Regions from separate parts of the Homo sapiens genome. Here region 1 is linked to region 2. Evidence: promoter capture Hi-C in 16 types of primary human blood cells and fetal thymus (Javierre and others, 2016). All regions are on one chromosome and are shown on one strand. Each heading gives the region's core, a stretch centred on a gene start or on the middle of the fragment in contact. The rest is flanking DNA. Distances are from core to core; before and after follow the strand shown. Region 1 holds the start of ULBP2 (UL16 binding protein 2). Region 2 overlaps LRP11 (LDL receptor related protein 11).

Region 1 (5,460 bases), core at 159-2,658, 110 kb before region 2:
CTGATGGTCCCCGTGGATGCCACTCAGCACAAAGGAGGGGAGAATAAGCCCCCAACTATGGGACCCCCACTCCCATCACATCCACACCACCCAGAAGCCACAGACAAGGTAGGACCACCTTCTACTCTCCAACTGACATCAGAGACATCACTTGGAGATGACACCATAGGGGATGGGGCACTATTCACTGGGACATTGTAATCCCCTGATCTGGGATCAGCAACCTAGGACAGGGTCCAAATCTGGTCCCCCCTATTTGAAGGTTGCCATTGCCTGCTGTTGCTCTACAAAGGGACAGGACTGGACACTGAGACGGAGAACCCACGGCCTGCAAAGATCACAGGGCATCCTTCCTCCCTTTCTAGAAAGAGTTTGCTGACCCCTGTCTACACAGTGACTATTCTCTATGACGCTGACACCCCCGTAGGAAGAACAGGCGGTCTGGGCCCCAAGGGCAGAAGTGGGTGCCTCTACTCACCAGAGTTCCCAGGGTCATCCTGGAGGAAATGGTGCTTCCCATCCCCCCTGCACAGGTTCTGAGGGGAGCTTGGGGTGTGTTTGCTGGGGTGTGTCCTCAGGCAAGAGGCAGAAGGTGCGACGTGGTGTAGGAGGTGGTGAGGTCCCCTTCATGGATGGGGAGACCTCTGGGGTGACCAGCTGGGCTGAGGTGGGCAGTAAGAGGACGTGACCTGGGTGGTGGCAGTGGATGGTGAGGGGAGGGGTGGCGGTTGTCTGCTGAGCCCCTGGGTGCAGGTGAGTGTCTACAGGAAAGTGCAGGGAAAAATTCAAGGGCACGCAGCCCTGGGGGCGCTGGAGGGTTTGTGTGGTGGAGAGCGGGTGAGAGCAGAGCAGGCCTGTGGCTGGTGGGGGTGTCTGTGATCGCGTCCCTGTGGAATCCCGCTTCACCCCTGTCCTGTCCCCAGCTCCGGTTCCGGGGGCTCTGGTTTTTCCTTCCCGAGGGCGGGTGGGACTGCCAGGCTGCACCAGGGATCCCCGCCCCACCTCGCTCTCTGCAGCCCTCCGGCCCCTCCACCCTCCTGCCAGCCTCCTTTCCACCCCGCTCCTTTTCGCCTCTTCCCGGGCAAGAAGCAGCCTCGGGGACTGCACCCAGCAGGAAGGAGCCGCCGACCGGAACTGAACGGGGGCGCAGTTAGGGGAGATCTCCCCCGTCCTTCTAGAAGCCTCCCCTCCTCTGAAACCCGCGGCAGTTCACAGCCCTCCAGGCTTGGTCCCCGCCCGGCTTAGGCTCCATCCACGAACTCACCGGCTCGCCCAGCCCGGGACCAGCCGGACAGCAGGAGCAGAAGCGGGAGGCACAGAAGGATCTTGGTAGCGGCGGCTGCTGCCATTAAGGACCCAGAGCGCTAGGGATGAGAGACTTGATGGAAGGAGAGCCTGGAAGATGAATCACCTCAAGGTTTTAAAGCCTCCCTATGTACGGGCGCGCCCCCCGTTTCCCGCTGTCATAGCGTCAAGCGGGTCATAGCGTCACGCGGCTAGAAATATGATTGGCTGCCCTGACGGTGTCCCTCCCCTTCCCGGGCGTCCCTCCCCTTTGTCCCAACCCCCTTCGGGTTGGTGTCTGGGTGTCCGCCCGGCTCCTGCCAAGACACGGTTCCTTCCACGACAGACTCATTTAATCATCACAACATTTTTTTATTGAAGGTGAAGAAACTTGCAGAGGAATATTCAGCGGCGGCGGCGTCTCCCTGTCCCCGCCTGGGTCCGCGACGCTCTCCCTCCCTCCGCCTGCGCCGCGAGGTCCCTGGCTTATCATGCTCTGGGCGCAGCCACGGGCCTGATCGCGTCCCCTCCACTACTGCGCCAGTTCCCAGTGGACGTGATTACAGTCCGGGCTAGGTTTTATTATTTATTTATTTATTTATTTATTTATTTAGAGACGGAGTTTCGCTCTTGTTGCCCAGGCTGGAGTGCAGTGGCGTGATCTCGGCTCACCGCAATCGCCGCTTCCCGGGTTCAAGGGATTCTCTGGCCTCAGCTTCCGGAGTAGCTGGGATTACAGACGCCCTCCACCACGCCCGGCGAATTGTTTGTATTTTTGGTAGAGATGGGGTTTCATCTTGTTGGCCAGGCTGGTCTCAAACTCATGACCTTAGGTGATCCACCCGTCTCGGCCTCCCAAAGTGCTGGGATTACAGGCGTTAGCCACCGCGCCTGGCCCGGGCTAGGTTTTATTACAGGAGCAGCAGGCAGGGTTCCAGAGGTTTAAAACAACATATTGTGCACTAAACAACTGGTCAAGATGGTAAATTTTATCTTCTATGTTTTTACCAAAATTAAACAGCTTTAAAAATATATATTAAAAAATTATGTCTTGTTCCTGCTCTGCCCAATGCAGATTGGCCAAAAGAGTCTACTTATTAAAATCGAGGACAACATGGAGGACCCCGTTCCTAAAATCTCAACCTGTGACACACTTGCTGATTTAGAAAGCTCCTCAGAGAGATGGGCCCTGAGCTCCCAGTTCAGCAGCCTCCCTCGCCCAGGTCCACGGATGGCACAGGGGGCTCAGCAGAGCAGGTTCAAGTGAAAGTTCCTGGTGGTTCCCCACTGTTAGTGCATTCTGCTGGCCTCTTCGCCCTGGGCAAAGGGCCAGCCACCCTTCAAAGCTAGGCACAAATGCCCGGTCCCATGCGTGTCCCTCATGTTCCCACAATACAGAACACCCTCCTGCTCGCTGAGACCTGGGTCCACAGTGAGTGCATCCAGATCTCCCTGTGTGACAACTGCTCACACAATTTAATTTGTGTGTGTAAGCATGTGTGACAGACTCTTACTCTGTCACCAGTCTGGAGTGCAGTGGCACGATCATAATTCACTGAATCCTCAACCTCCTGGGCTCAAGGCTTACTCCCTACTCAATATTGGAGAGTGTGGGGCAAGATAGTCTGAGCCACTAGCTGAGCCGTCCTCTTGTTACTGTTTCCTATGCCCTGGCAGATGCCTCAGTAGTATTCACTCCTGGATTTACCAAGCCCTGTGTTAGACTGGTCCAGGGGCTGAGTGGGTCTTGGCTGTGAGTGCAACTGGGGTGAGTTATTCTGCCAGGATTGGGAACTGTGTTACTCAGGAAACTTTTCTCATCACCCACCCCAATCCTGTCCCAGATGGGAGGAGCAGTGAGTGCTGTGTCCAGGCTCCCTGTCTTCCCAGTGCTCCCAGCATCACATGAGCTCCTCCCCAGATGGTGTGGGGTCTGGGCTCTCCATGTTCACCATGCTCCCACCATTGGCTCCCCATTTCACTGCTCTCCCAGGATCATCCCAGCCCCTCCAGGGTCACTGCCTGACCAGGTGGGGGTTGGGTGAAGAGGCAGAGGTCAGGGCAAGACCCCTGGTCCATTCTGACTTTAGGTTCCTCTCTGAAACGCGACTGCATTCCACATCCTGTTCCTCTGGCAACCTCAGTTGGGATCACCTGTAGGGCAGTGTAGAATCCTGGTGGGTGATGACCAATTCCTGCCACCGTGGCTTTTCAAGTATATCGATTTTTCCTAAAATGGATAAAGAGACTGGCAATAAGTTATGGAAATACTGTTTTCCTTACTAACAGTAGATACGTGTTTATGTATCAATTCTGGTTTTTAAAACAAATATAAACCCATAGGCACTCTGCTGAACACAGATTCTATCTCAAAATAACACACTTTGAAGATCTTGCAATACCTGCACATACAGATTTTTTCCTTTTTATCTCTGCACATTACATAGAATGACTGCATCACAACAAAAGTAACCAGTGTCTGTGTCTGAAGATCCAGACGGTCTCCAGTGACTTTTAGAGAAGCGAAATGCTGCAGAAACTGTGCTTGCATGAATCACAATTTCATTGTGTAGAATAGATTTCCAGACACAGAATTGCTGTGCGAAGTAATGCACCTTTAAAGCATCTCATGTCATAGGATGGCAATGCTGGCGACACTCTTGTCTGTGATTGTGATGACCCAGCTTGGGCAGAGGATGGTGAAACATCCACCGTAGAGGGAGGGGAAACTGGTACAGGCTTCCTGAAGGACAGGGTGACAGGGTTCATCAAGGGTCAAAAATATCCGCGTCTGAATTGAGAATATGTATTTATATTCGTTTGAAACGGCATAAAGACTCCCTGGAAAGATGAGAAGAATCAAATAAACTTTCCTCCCTGGCGTGTGGCCAATGAGAGTGGACGCAGGCAGGGGCGGGGGAGCCTTTCACACATGACTTTTCAGGGTTTTGATTCTGAAACAGGTGAAAATGTGGAGGTGAAGTAGTAAGTAAGAGTGGGGCCGAGAGTCCCAGGGACGGTCACACGGTGGGCCCGCCTGATCTGTTGGGGGCCACTAGGGTCCGGGGAGGGGAACCCGGGCAGCTGCGTGCGGGGCTGCTGCAGTGACGAGGCACCGGTTCTAGATATTTACCCAACGGTGTTGTCACAAAGGGGATATTATAGGTGATTTCTGATTTCAACCGCAGATGACTTTCGGAGACAGTTCGCATATGCGGTTTCAGTTTTCACCCTGCTGCGTCCTCTCCGGGTTCTGCGCGCTCCTCCCAGGACGCCCGCTTCGCCCGAGCTCCGGACCCGGGTCCTGCCCGGTTGAGACCGCCGAGTGGGTGCCACGCTGCCCGCCGATGCTCCCGGGCCTCCGGGTCCACAGCCTCCGGACAAAACGGCCTTTCGAAGACCTGGGAGGACTCGCCGGTCGCGACAAGGAACCGTGGCAGGAGACAGGAAATGCGGGGCCTGGTGGGGTGAAGAGCACGAGGTTCCTCCTTCATCCTCGCGGCGACTTTGCCACCGGCTCAGTGTGGAGACGTCACAGTCCCGCTCGGATCCCTGGGGATCCGACAGTGTGGCCCCCACGAGGACCCCCATCCTCCTTGCCCTGGGGCTGCTGCGGGAGGGCGCCCATGGCGCACTAGGTCCTGAGTGCCCAGGATCCAACAGGGGCTTCCCGTTGTCGCCTCCCCGACCCCGCCGCTCGCGGTCCAGGGCTCCTGGTTTCTCCACTGGGCTGGGGGCCCCGAGCATGGACGTCTTGAGGCAGAGAAAACCTTGGGATGGTTGGAAATGAAGGACGGGAGGGAGAACCAGAGAAAGGGAGAGGAAGGAAGCAGGTAGGGCCAGAGAACAAAGAGAAACCTCCGCCAGGAAAATGGGAAGAGGATGACACAGGAACAGCCCTACACTCCACCAACTCTCAGTCTCCTGCTCTCTGCCTTGTAAGGAACGCAGGCCCCACCCCCTCCAGCCTCACAGTGTTTGGGGTCACCCATTCCAGCGGGGTGAGGCGTCCCCTTGTGGGTGCTGTTGGCATTTCCCTGAGGTCTGTGGACACTGAGCACCTTTTCCTGGGCTCACTGCCATTTGCATTCTTCTTCCGATGCCAGTGGGCAACCGGTGGTCCCCAAACTCTGATGAGACCTCGACCCCAGCCGGTGTCGGGCTCTTGACACCGCC
Region 2 (5,777 bases), core at 1,776-4,275:
AGCTTACGTAAACCAATACCCAAAGTGTTAAATTTTAGGTTGTTTTGAGATGAAACAGCATAACCATTATGTATTTGTGTAAATCCTCTTCACCCAAGCAAGTGAACATTTAAACAAGTTGTCTTGAAAGAGATGCATGTGCTAGTAATTCAACGTTATGCCTCCAATTTAACTAAATCTATCACTAAAAAAAGTAAGGCTAATGAGATTTATTTTTATTTTTTTTGAGACAGGGTCTCACTCTGTTTCCCAGGCTGGAGTACAGTGACGCGATCACAGCTCACTGCAGCCTCAGCCTCCCAAACTCACATGATCCTCCCATCTCAGCCTCCTGAGTAGCTGGGACTATAGGCGTAGTAGCTGGGACCACCATGCCTGACTAATTTTTGTATTTTTTATAGAGACAAGGTTTTGCCATGTTGCCCAGGCTGGTCTTGAACTCTTGGGCTCAAGCAATCTGCCCACCTCGGCTGGCCTCCCAAAGTGCTAGGATTATAGGTGTGAGTCACTGCACCTGGCCTAAAATACATTAACATGACTAAAGCATTACAGAATTTAGCCAGATGCAGTGACTCACCTATAATCCCAGCTACTCTGGAGGCTGAGGCAGAAGAATTGCTTGAGGCCAAGAGTTTGAGACCAGCCTGGGCAACATAGTGAGACCTTGTCTCAATCAGTCAATCAATAAGTATTACAGGATTCCATCATTTTTTACACACTTATTATTTGCATGATTATGTGACATGAGACAGAAATAGAGATTATCACATTTCCAAAAGCTTTTCTAATGTCTTTTCAGACTCTGCATAAGTTGTATTGAAATAACCTGACATGATTTTAGTAAGTTTATTAAGAAAAATTTTTGTTCATTGTACAAGATACGGAAGATGCAAAATAATTTAAGAAGGAAAGTGAATTTAAAATACCACCTCTTTTGAAAACTGCTTTTAATATTTGTTATATTTCCTTCCACTCTTGTTTATGTGCCTTGTAGATTTTAAGTGCCTCCATAAAAATATGTCTGCAAAACATTGCATTCTATCAGGGGCTTTTCTTTCTGAGTTTTGGTTAAGAATGCTGCCAAGTGTCTGCTTTTTTGGTCCATTCCTGGTTGGTACTGCCACCTACTGGTAAAATCGGTCACTACATGCAAGCCTTTGGATGTGGTTTTAGTGGGTTTTCTCTGCTTAAGATAGTTTGTATGGAGAAGAGCATCACAATCTAAGAAACAGAGTTGGGCAGACCAGGCATCTTTGGCAGGACTGCCGAAGGGGTGAAGAGTTTATGGAGAGATCTGTGTTATCAGAGGCCAGGATGGATGAATTCCTACCACATTACTGTGGTGGAGAGAACCACGTGAGCATGAACAAATTAGCTGAAAGTAGAGTCGAGACCAAAGCCCAGGTCTTGGCTCTACCTTTAGAACCTTGAATAAGTCACTTCATATCTCTGGACCTCAGTTGCCTCATCTGTTAATAAGGGACTTCAACCAGATGTCCTCCAAGGTGCTGTCCAGCACTGAGGAATGATAAATAGGCTGACATTCATACTTTACCCCATCAGCCCTTACCCATGCTAGGTGTCACTCATTGGTCCCAGCACTGTCCCATGGGGAATGTGGACTTAGCTCAGAATCCTTTTGAAAATAGTGCTCCAGGCTAGAAGCCATTATTCTCAGCAAACTAACGCAGGAACAGAAAACCAAATACTGCATGTCCTCACGTTAGAAATGGAAGCCGAATGATGAGAACACATGAACATATGGAGGGAAACAACACACACTGGGGCCTGTCAGAGGGTGGGAGGTAGGGGGAGGGGGAGCATCAGGCAGAACAGCTAATGGATGCTGGGCTTAATACCTAGGGATGGGATGATCTGTGCAGCAAACCACCATGACACGTTTACCTGTGTGACAAACCTGCACATCCTACACATGTACCCCGGAACTTAGAAGTTGGAGGGAAAAAAAAGAAAATAATGCTCCAGGCTGCCACCTGCGGCTGATGGGAGTCAGCACCCAATTTCCAATCTATTTATGATCTCTCCTTTTGCTTTTTGATAATCAGCCTTTGGATTTGGTTATGAAGATGTAAAGAGTGGTCTTTCACAGATGCAGAGAGATTAGATGTACAGTTATTATATTAGGGCTTTTTCTAATTATTAAAATAATATGGATTTACTGTAGAAAATATAGAAAAATACAAAGAAAGTTAAAAGCATCTAGCAAAACTCACCATTAAAATTTTGTCGCATTTTCTTCTGGTTACTTCTATTCATACACATATACATATTTATTCATTTTTAACAAAAGCAGGATAATGCTTTTATAAAACTTTTTTCTTACTCATGAGCATTTTCATGTATTATTAACTATTCATCAAAAACACACTTTTTGAAAGTCCTGGGGTGAAGAAAGTGGGAAGAAAAAAACAAAACTGAAAATGTTAGAAAGAGCCCTCACATCCTGTAGTTTCTGTTCAGACAGTAGCTGTCCCTGCCCTCCCCCTCTGCTGTCCCTAAGACCACCAGAGTAGAGTCCTCAGCCTCTGATTTCATGTAAGTTAAAGACCCATAAGTAGATTTAAAAGTGCATTATTGGCCGGGCACGGTGGCTCACGCCTGTAATCTCAGCACTTTGGGAGGCCGAGGTGGGCGGATCATGAGGTCAGGAGATCGAGATCATCCTGGCTAACACGGTGAAACCCCATCTCTACTAAAAATACAAAGGCCAGGAACGGTGGCTTACGCTTGTAATCCCAGCACTTTGGGAGGCCGAGGCAGGCGGATCACAAGGTCAGGAGATCGAGACCATCCTGGCTAACATGGTGAAACGCTGTCTCTACTAAAACTACAAAAAATTAGCTGGACGTGGTGGCGGGCACCTGTGGTCCCAGCTACTCGGGAGGCTGAGGCAGGAGAATGGCGTGAACCCGGGAGGTGGAGCTTGCAGTGAGCCAAGATCGCACCACTGCACTCCAGCCTGGGCGACAGAGCAAGACTCCGTCTCAAAAATAAAATAAAAAAATAAAAATAAAAATACAAAAAATTAGCCGGGCATGGTGGCGGGCACCTGTAGTCCCAGCTACTTAGGAGGCTGAGGCAGGAGAATGGTGTGAACCCAGGAGGCAGAGCTTTCAGTGAGCTGAGATTGCGCCACTGCACTCCAGCCTGAGCAACAGAGCGAGACTCCATCTCAAAAAAAAAAAAAAAAAAGTACATTGTTGTTCATGACACATGCCTGGGTTTTAAGAAGACCATCAGCTAGTACAATAAATATGAATGAGTTAAATTCACTGCTGCCTCCTTCCTGCACAGACATGTGGTGAGGACAAATAAGACTTAGCTCGGCTGGGCGCGGTGGCTCATGCTTGTAATCCCAGCACTTTGGGAGGCCGAGGCAGGCAAATCACGAGGTCAGTTCAAGACCAGCCTGGCCAACATGGTGAAACCCCATCTCTACTAAAAATACAAAAAATTAGCTGGGCGTAGTGTCAGGCACCTGTAATCCCAGCTACTCAGGAGGCTGAGGCAGGAGAATCACTTGAACCCAGGAGGCGGAGGTTGCAGTGAGCCAAGATTGCGCCACTGCACTCCAGCCCAGGTGACAGAGTGAGACTCAGTCTCAAAAAAAAAAAAAAAAAAGACTTAGCTCATGGAAGACTTGTTAACAAGATACTAAGATTAATACTAACAGTGTAGCATGCAAAGTAGTGAGATGTAGTTTTTCACCTATCACATTGACAATGATGAAGAATTATAATAATTAATGTTTCTAAGAGTAGAGAGAAACAAGTCTCACACTCTGCTGGTAGCAATGCAATTAGTACGTCCTTCCAGAGGCCAGTTTCTGAAGGCTTAAAACTATGTATATGATCGGGTGCAGCAGCTCACACCTGTAATCCCAGCACTTTGGAAGGCCAAGGCAGGTGGATTGCTTAAGGCCAGGAGTTCTAGACCAGCCCTAGCAACATGGCAAAACCCCATCTCTACAAAAACTACAGAAATCAGCTTGTGGTATTCACCTGTAATCCCAGCTACTTGAAAGGCTGAGGTGGGAGAATTGCTTGAGCTTGGGAGGTCGAGGCTGCAGTGAGCTGTAATCCCACCACTGTACTCCAGCCTGGGTGACAGAGTAAGACCTCATCTCTAAAACAAAACTATGTGTGCTTTGACCCAATTGTCCCACTTTTGGGGATTTATTCCACACAGGTTACTGAGGATAAAATGAAGGTATGTGCAGACATTCAGTTACACCAGCGAATGCATGCTCAGTACACTCTGAGCCACCGGGCAGGAGGAGCACAGAGCTCCAGTGTGGCCTGTGTTTGCTCAGCATGTAAAGGCACAATGGCTGGATTGTTGACCATGGTCATAGCCGTAGGGCCTGTTCTCTGTGTGGTCCATGTCATTCATTAACAATTCCACCCTCTTGTATCCAAGCTACCCCGAGGAAAGAAATCTGGTTTCCAGCCCTACAAAGGGCTAGAAAAGTGGTGCTACATCCACATTCACGTGGAATCTGCTTTTTGAAACTTGAGAATTCCTGGGCATGTTAAAGTATTTCTTCCGGATCATGCCTGCATGCTCTATGGCAGCTGGAAATGAAATGAAAACAGCTTCCATCCAGCTGCCAATTCCCTCTGTGAATGTGTCGCCATGCATAGTAAACATAATACATTCAGAAGAAAGGAAAAATGGTCTCCTAAGACATGTAACTCTTCCAGAAGGATCATTACCAAAAGTAACTATTTCCAGAAGCAAGTGATGTCATTGTTTTGTTTTGTTTCGATTCGCCACACTGGCTAGAGCCTGTGATTGGATGTGTGAAAGTGAAGCATTTCTCTATGGCGTTCCTTATGCTGAAATCTAGGAAAAATGAATCAGGCAGACTGGGAAATCATAGGGAATTCCTTCATGGAATGTAAACAGCAGAAATTCACATTTCAGTTACCCAGAAGGCAGGGCCAGGTTCCTGGGTAATCCTAGAGTCTGGGGCAACTGCGCCTTCTGAAGTCTCCCATGCACACTGCCCGCTGCCTGATACCTGATCCCTCCCTACATCACCATCTTCCTCTCCCCAGGGAATAAGGGCATTTAAGAAAATGCTGTTTAAAAAAATTTTTCTTAAAGAAAGAAAGTGCTCTTTAATTTTGACAACTGAAGATTCAGAAAGAATTTGCATAGTTTTTTACATGAACCCACCTGTGAGGTTAGGTCCCTTTTGCAAGTACAGTTAGCCAATTTCTCTACTGCATCCTTAATAAAGCTTTGTCCAGAACCTTCCTAAAAATCATTTAAAAGTGTGTGATTTTGCCTGGGTATGAGTAAATAAATATAGTATTGACTTGGTTCTTGGAGTAAAAAACTCGTATTTGCTAGTTGTGACCTTGAGAGCAGTATGGTTCAATGGAAAACTGCTTTGGATCAGTCCTGGGTTCTAATTCCAGCACCACCAATTACTAGCTACTAAGTAATCAACTTCTCTAAACTTCATTTCCTTACCTGTAAGAGGATAATAATCTCAGCTGGGCACGGTGGCTCATGCCTGTAATTCCAGCACTTTGGGAGGCCACGGCGGGTGGATCACCTGAGGTAGGGAGTTCGAGACCAGCCTGGCCAACACGGAGAAACCCCATCTCTACTAATAATACAAAAATTAGCCAGGCGTGGTGGTGCATGCCTACAATCCCAGCTTCTCGGGAGGCTGAGGCAGGAGAATCGCTTGAACCCAGGAGGTGGAGGTTGCAGTGAGCCGAGATTGCGCCAGTGCACTCCAG

What was found. Contacts are between HindIII fragments. The CHiCAGO score rates a contact against its expected background, and 5 or more counts as called.
Region 1: the fragment with the promoter of ULBP2 here is called in contact with a fragment that was not itself captured in region 2 in 1 of 17 cell types (endothelial precursors); the score reaches 7.1 in endothelial precursors.

What each region holds. Positions count from the first base shown.
Region 1 is chr6:149,937,962-149,943,421 of GRCh38, reverse strand. ULBP2 (UL16 binding protein 2) reads right to left here and starts at 1,408. Exons shown (of 5, transcript NM_025217.4): 1 at 1,265-1,408. The coding sequence starts at 1,349. RefSeq lists a silencer at 1,411-1,540 and enhancers at 4,283-4,582, 4,071-4,761, 4,762-5,452. The HindIII fragment of the contact is 19,686 bases long and covers 1-5,460 here.
Region 2 is chr6:149,830,057-149,835,833 of GRCh38, reverse strand. The region is part of intron 5 of LRP11 (LDL receptor related protein 11); the gene reads left to right. All of the region lies in intron 13 of RAET1E-LRP11 (RAET1E-LRP11 readthrough), which reads left to right. Among named protein-coding and RNA genes, the nearest start is that of RAET1E-AS1, 31 kb to the left of the region's middle. The HindIII fragment of the contact is 4,487 bases long and covers 782-5,268 here.